2 separate regions of the Homo sapiens genome follow, and region 1 is linked to region 2. Evidence: promoter capture Hi-C in human tissues and cell types (Jung and others, 2019). All regions are on one chromosome and are shown on one strand. The core of a region is centred on a gene start or on the middle of the fragment in contact, and the rest is flanking DNA. Distances in the headings are between cores, read along the strand shown.

What was found. The method cuts DNA at HindIII sites, captures the fragments that hold promoters and counts their contacts. A contact is called where the count stands out against the background at its distance.
Region 1: a contact is called between a fragment that was not itself captured here and the fragment with the promoter of GZMB in region 2, in 7 of the 25 tissues and cell types used here (H1 embryonic stem cells, adrenal gland, bladder and 4 more).

What each region holds. Positions count from the first base shown.
Region 1 is chr14:24,568,205-24,571,378 of GRCh38, reverse strand. No RefSeq gene overlaps it. Among named protein-coding and RNA genes, the nearest start is that of CTSG, 6.5 kb to the left of the region's middle. The HindIII fragment of the contact is 6,762 bases long and covers 1-3,174 here.
Region 2 is chr14:24,632,880-24,635,761 of GRCh38, reverse strand. It overlaps GZMB (granzyme B), which reads left to right and starts at 1,572. Exons shown (of 5, transcript NM_004131.6): 1 at 1,572-1,656; 2 at 2,700-2,847. The coding sequence starts at 1,602. GZMH-AS1 (GZMH and GMZB antisense RNA 1) reads right to left here and starts at 2,660. Exons shown (of 3, transcript XR_007064087.1): 1 at 2,414-2,660; 2 at 1-1,466. RefSeq lists an enhancer at 994-2,193. The HindIII fragment of the contact is 16,614 bases long and covers 1-2,882 here.

The sequences.
Region 1 (3,174 bases), core at 390-2,889, 64 kb after region 2:
AGCTCTTTGTCTCTGCTGCCCTACTGAAAAGGTCTCTACAGACCCCAGGGTACTCACCTCCAGAAGGTGACCATCCCAGAAGCCAGATCCACCACTTCTAACAAATCTGCACTCTTCCCTGTTGAGTAAACCTCATCAGCAGAACTTTGGCAAGAAAGCATTTTGCACAATGAAAACCAGTGCAAAAGAACACAATTCTTTCTTTTTCCACGTGCAGACTTTGTGCGTTAGAAGCCTTATCAACTTGAATGGAAAGTCATAAAATTATGGTAAGCTCAGGCACAGAAACCTCACTGGGAACTTCTCCCCCAACCCAACAGCTAAGGCAAAAAGGAGAAGGATTGGGTCAGGTGATGATATTTCAGAAAGAGAAAGTCTTTCTCCTCTTTCTCTCTCTCTCTCTCTCACACACACACACACACACACACACACACACACGCACCCATTCACCCACACTAAGCCATTTTCCTTTTCAAACAACCAAAGGCCAGAGAAGGGGGAGCAGAGAAGAAAGAGTCTGTGTAGATGGAAAATCTGAAGATTCTGAGTTGAGCTCTGCCTCTTCCCGTTCCATGTGGAGCCTTCAGAGGCCCTACCTGCAAGGCCAGGACTGTGTCTGACATGTACATGTAAATGAGAAACCTCTCTCTACTCCAGAATCTCAAGTGTTGCTCCACAAGATTCTGCAGTTGCCTGAAACTGCTACTCAACAGTACAAAGAAGGTCATGGATGACTAGATTCATCAGGGATATTGGTCTGTAGTTTTCTTTTTTGTTGTATCTTTGTCTAGTTTTGGTATCAGGGTGACACTGGCCTCATCGAATGAGTTAGGAAGAATTCCCTACTCCTTGATTTTTTGGTATAGTTTCAGGAAGATTTGTATTAGTTCTTTGTTTGGTAGAATTCAGCTGGTCTTGGGTTTTTTTTGCTGGAATATTTTTATTACTAATTTAATCTCACTACTCACTATTGATCTGTTCAGGAGTTTTATTTCTTCCTGGTTCAATCTCAGGAGATGTTTTCAGTAATTTATCCATTTCCTCTAGGTCTTCTAGTTTGTAAGTATATAATTGTTCATAATAGTCTCTGATGATCTTTGTATTTCTGTGGCATGTTTTAATGTCTCTTTTTCATTTCTGATTGTGTTTATTTGGATTTTCTCTTCTTGGTAAGTCTAGCTAGTGGTTTGTCAATATTGTTTATCTTTTTGAAGAACCAATTTTTTGTTTCATTGGTCCTCTGTAAACTTTTGTTGGTCTCTATTACATTTAGTTCTCCTCTGATCTTTGTTATTTCTGTTATTCTTTTTAATTCTGGGTTTGGTTTGTTCTTGCTTTTCTAGTTCCTTGTCAAACTAGCATTTCTAGTTTGCATTGTTAGGTTGCTTATTTTCAATATTTCTACTTTTTGATGTAGGTATTTAATGCTATAAAATTCCTTCTTAGCACTGCTTTTCCTGTATCCCACAGGTTTTAGTATATAGCATTTTTATTTTCATGTGTTTCAAAAAAAAATTAATTTCTGTGTTAACTTCTTTCTTGACCCAGTGATTGTTCAGAAGCATGTTGTTTAATTCCCATGTATTTTTATGGTTTCCAAAGTTCCTCTGGGTATTGATTTCTACCTTTATTTCACAGTGGTCTGAGAAGATACTTGAGGTAATTTCAATTGTTTAAAATTTGTTAAGACTTGTTTTATAACCTAACGTGGTTTATCTTGAAGAATATTCCATATGCTGATGAAAAGAATGTATATTTTGTAGTTGTTGCATAGAATGTTCTGTATAAGTCCATTTAGTCTAAAGTCCAATTTAAGTCCAATGTTTCTTTGTTAATTTTTTGTCTTGATGATCTATCTAGTCCTGTGAGTGGGATGTTGAAGCTCCCGCTATTATTGTATTGCCACCTCTTTAGGTCTAGTAATATTTGTTTTATTAATTTGGGTGCTCCAATGTTGAATGCATATACATTTAGGACTGCTATATCCTCTTGCTGAATTGATCCCTTTATCATTATATGATGACCTTCTTTGTCTTTTTTCCTGCTTTTTATTTAAAGTCTGTTTTATCTGATACAATATATCTACTTCTGCTAACTTTTGGTTTCCTTTTGTGTAGAATATCTATTTCCACCTCTTTGCTTTGAGTCTATGTGTGTCTTTATTGGTAAGATGAGTTTTGTATGTAGAATATAGTTCAGTCATGTTTTTAATGCATTCTGCCAATCTATATCTTTTTTTTTTTTTTTTTTTTGAGACGGAGTCTCGCTCTGTCGCCCAGGCTGGAGTGCAGTGGCGGGATCTCGGCTCACTGCAAGCTCCGCCTCCCGGGTTCATGCCATTCTCCTGCCTCAGCCTCCCAAGTAGCTGAGACTACAGGCGCCCGCCACTACGCCCGGCTAATTTTTTGTATTTTTAGTAGAGACGGGGTTTCACTGTTTTAGCCGGGATGGTCTCGATCTCCTGACCTCGTGATCCGCCCGCCTCGGCCTCCCAAAGTGCTGGGATTACAGGCGTGAGCCACCGCGCCCGGCCCAATCTATATCTTTTAAGTGGAGCATTTAGTCCATTTACATTCAAGGTTGATATTGATATGTAAAGCTTTATTCCTGTCACTGTTAATTGTTTTCAAGTTGTTTTATAAATTATTTCTTTCTTTTTTTTTTCTCTGTGTTTTTCTCTTTGTGGTTTGATGAAATTCTGTCATGTTGCCATTTGATCCTTTTCTCTTCCTCCTTTGTGTGATTGTTTTATAAGACCTATGAGTTTTATATTTTCATTTGTTTCTGTGATGGTGAATATCAACCTTCTGTTTCCATGTTTAAGACCCCTTTGAGCATTTCCTTTAGGGCTGGTATAGTGGTGACAATTTCCCTCAGTGTTTGCTTCTCTGGGAAAAACTTTATTTCTCCTTCATTTATGAAGCTTATTCTGGCAGAAAATAAAAATCTAGACTGACAATTTTTTCCTTTCAGTACTTTGAATATACCATATCATTCTCTTCTCCTGTGTAAGGTATCTGCTGAAAAGTCTGCTGTTAGTTCAATAAGGTTTCCTTTACAGGTGACTAGATGCTTTTCTCTTGCTAATTTTAAAATTCTTTCTTCTACCTTGACTTTAGACATTCTGAATATAATATGCCATGGTGAAATCCTTTTTGCAATGTATTTTCATGG
Region 2 (2,882 bases), core at 323-2,822:
ATTTTCGCTTTGCTAAAATTATTTAAAAATTACTTGCATATTAAATTTTTTAATGCCTAGGAAAGAAAGACTATAGTTGTATTGACTAAGATTTCTACGAGCATGGGGAAAATGCTTAATTTGTAGGGTTAATCAAGGATAAAATAAATTGCATTGTATGTACAATGTGATCCCAAGTATTTAAAACACACTGCTTATGGTAACAGTCAGTCTGTGGGAGACAGGTTAAAAAGTGATATTTTCCCTTCCTACTTTCCAAATTTTCTTAACAAACATATATTATGACTATAATCAGAAAAAATTATTTTTAAAACGTCTACTATGGGGCAAGCTAGGTTCAAAAAATAGAAGTTTGATAAATGTAGTTGGCTTGCTATTGACAAGGAAGACGTTTACACTGGAATTCTATATTTTGAGATATACCATTCCTCATAGAAAAATTTCCTCACAGAAAATATAAAGGTGGAAACAAATCACAAGAATCGAACCATGTAGAGAGACTTAGTTGTCTTTTAACAGAATTGGGCACGGGCTGTTCAGAAACAACAATCTTTCACATCCATTATAATGATAGCATTAGTGTAGTTTGTTTAGCAAATGTTTACTGTGAGCCTGTTATGTGCTGAGCCTGCTATGTAAGAAGTGTGGCTCTCTGGACAGGAGACAGAATACTAAACAACACAACTACTGATCTTTGGCTGCCTGGCATGCTTCCTCACTTCATATGGTATCAGCAATTTAGCACCACAAACGTCCTTTAGAGAACCAGCCCTTTCTCATTCTTGGTTCTAGTGGCTTGAGTAGACTGACCCCAGCCTACCCAAAGTGGATTTGACTCCTAGCAATTCATTAATCTAGCCCAATAAAATGTCAAGTACAGGACTTTTATTGAAAGCATTCAGAAAAGAGGTGGACTCTCACACTAAACATTTGTAACTAAATAAGGGATGTTAGAAATTCTCTAGAAAGGAAGCTATGATAATAAATGGGTTGCTAGATGGGTCTAGTAGATGGTGGCCATGCTTTGTTACTGCCTTGTGTATTGTGCTACCATAGCCCTCCCCAAACTGTACTCTGGCTCCTGGCATTTCCGTCTCTTCAACCAGATGGTCAGCTCTCTAAGTGAAGGAGACACATCTCCAACATGCTTGGTTCTAGCACAACAGAAGGGCTCAAACACATACCTGCTAAAGAAACTATCCTGATGGATTTAGCAGCATGGCCATGAGGCATTGGCGGTTCTATCACTGGGAACTCAGGTTTCTGGTGCTCCAGTACCTCTACTGGCTGATACCACATCCTACAATTCACTTCATAGGCTTGGGTTCCTGCTCTGGGCTGAATAGGTGGTCCACTCTGAGTCATCAGCTGTGGGTGATGATGTGGTCACTGCATGATTCTCACACAAGCACCCAGAGGACGTCATCAGGCAGAGGCAGTGGGGGTGGGCAGCATTTACAGAAAATCTGTGATGAGACACCACAAAACCAGAGGGGAACATGAAGTCACTGAGCCTGCTCCACCTCTTTCCTCTCCCAAGAGCTAAAAGAGAGCAAGGAGGAAACAACAGCAGCTCCAACCAGGGCAGCCTTCCTGAGAAGATGCAACCAATCCTGCTTCTGCTGGCCTTCCTCCTGCTGCCCAGGGCAGATGCAGGTGAGTGACCGTCTCCACCCTCGGGGGCCCAACCCCATCCCACAGGTCTCCTGCCCTTTCTCCACATTCCTGATCCATCTATCTACCAGGAATGTTCTGAACTCCAGCTCCCATTCTACCAAGACCCCCCAAGTGTGATGCTGGATAAGCTATCAGCAGGAATGGCAGAGCAGCAGGCCATTCTCAAGAAGAGCCAGTGGGTACTATCCCTTCCCCAGAGCCCACCTTTGTCACCTGGAGAGTAGGACTTTCCTAGAAGTAAATGGCAGAGGATGGGAAACTAGAAAAGAGAAATATTAAATTATTCTAGAGTAGGCCTGGCTTCTGTTTCTGGGATAAGACAGGTGCTTCTCTCACTGTCTACTTAGGAGAGAAACCCAGAGCTCAGCTGACAGCAGAATTGGTACAATCACTGTCCTCAGAACACTGTTAATGTGTTTGCTCAGTCCCATTCTCCAACTCTGCTTTTCTTCCCTGGCCTTTGGTGGCTCCCCTCTTTCCAAGGATGAGGCACTACGGCAGGCCCCAGCTTCCCTGCTTTCTAGAATTCCACCAGCACTGCTCTACCAGCCCTCATCCAGAGGCTAACTGGAGCCAGTCCATCATGCAGCCATGAACATTTACTGGGCACCCACTACATGTCAGGCTCTAGGAAACAGGATATGACAGTATCTAGATCCCTCCACTTACACCCTGGCCATTAGAAAGCAGCACTATCCTAGACACCACAGGACTCATAAGGGTCTTGGAAACTCACCTGAAACAAAGCAAAGTCAGGAGAGGAATGATCAGGAGCCTCTGGGATTTCACTGTCCCTAAGACAGGTATGCTCGCCTTCAACTACATATGGAAGAAAGATTTACAGACCAAAGTCTGCTGTTCTTCCCTTTTTCAGAGCAGGAAATTGAAGCCCCTTCCTCCAGGCCACTCCCAACTCCAGGCTATCCCAGGCTCCCAAATGCCCAGGAGTTCTGGAGCCACTAAGCAGGTGCCCACCCAGCAGATTCCATGGGTGCCCACAAGCAGACAGACTTTTCCTTCAGGGGAGATCATCGGGGGACATGAGGCCAAGCCCCACTCCCGCCCCTACATGGCTTATCTTATGATCTGGGATCAGAAGTCTCTGAAGAGGTGCGGTGGCTTCCTGATACGAGACGACTTCGTGCTGACAGCTGCTCACTGTTGGGGAAGGTGAGGAGCAGAAAACAGCCCACACCCTCCTGGAA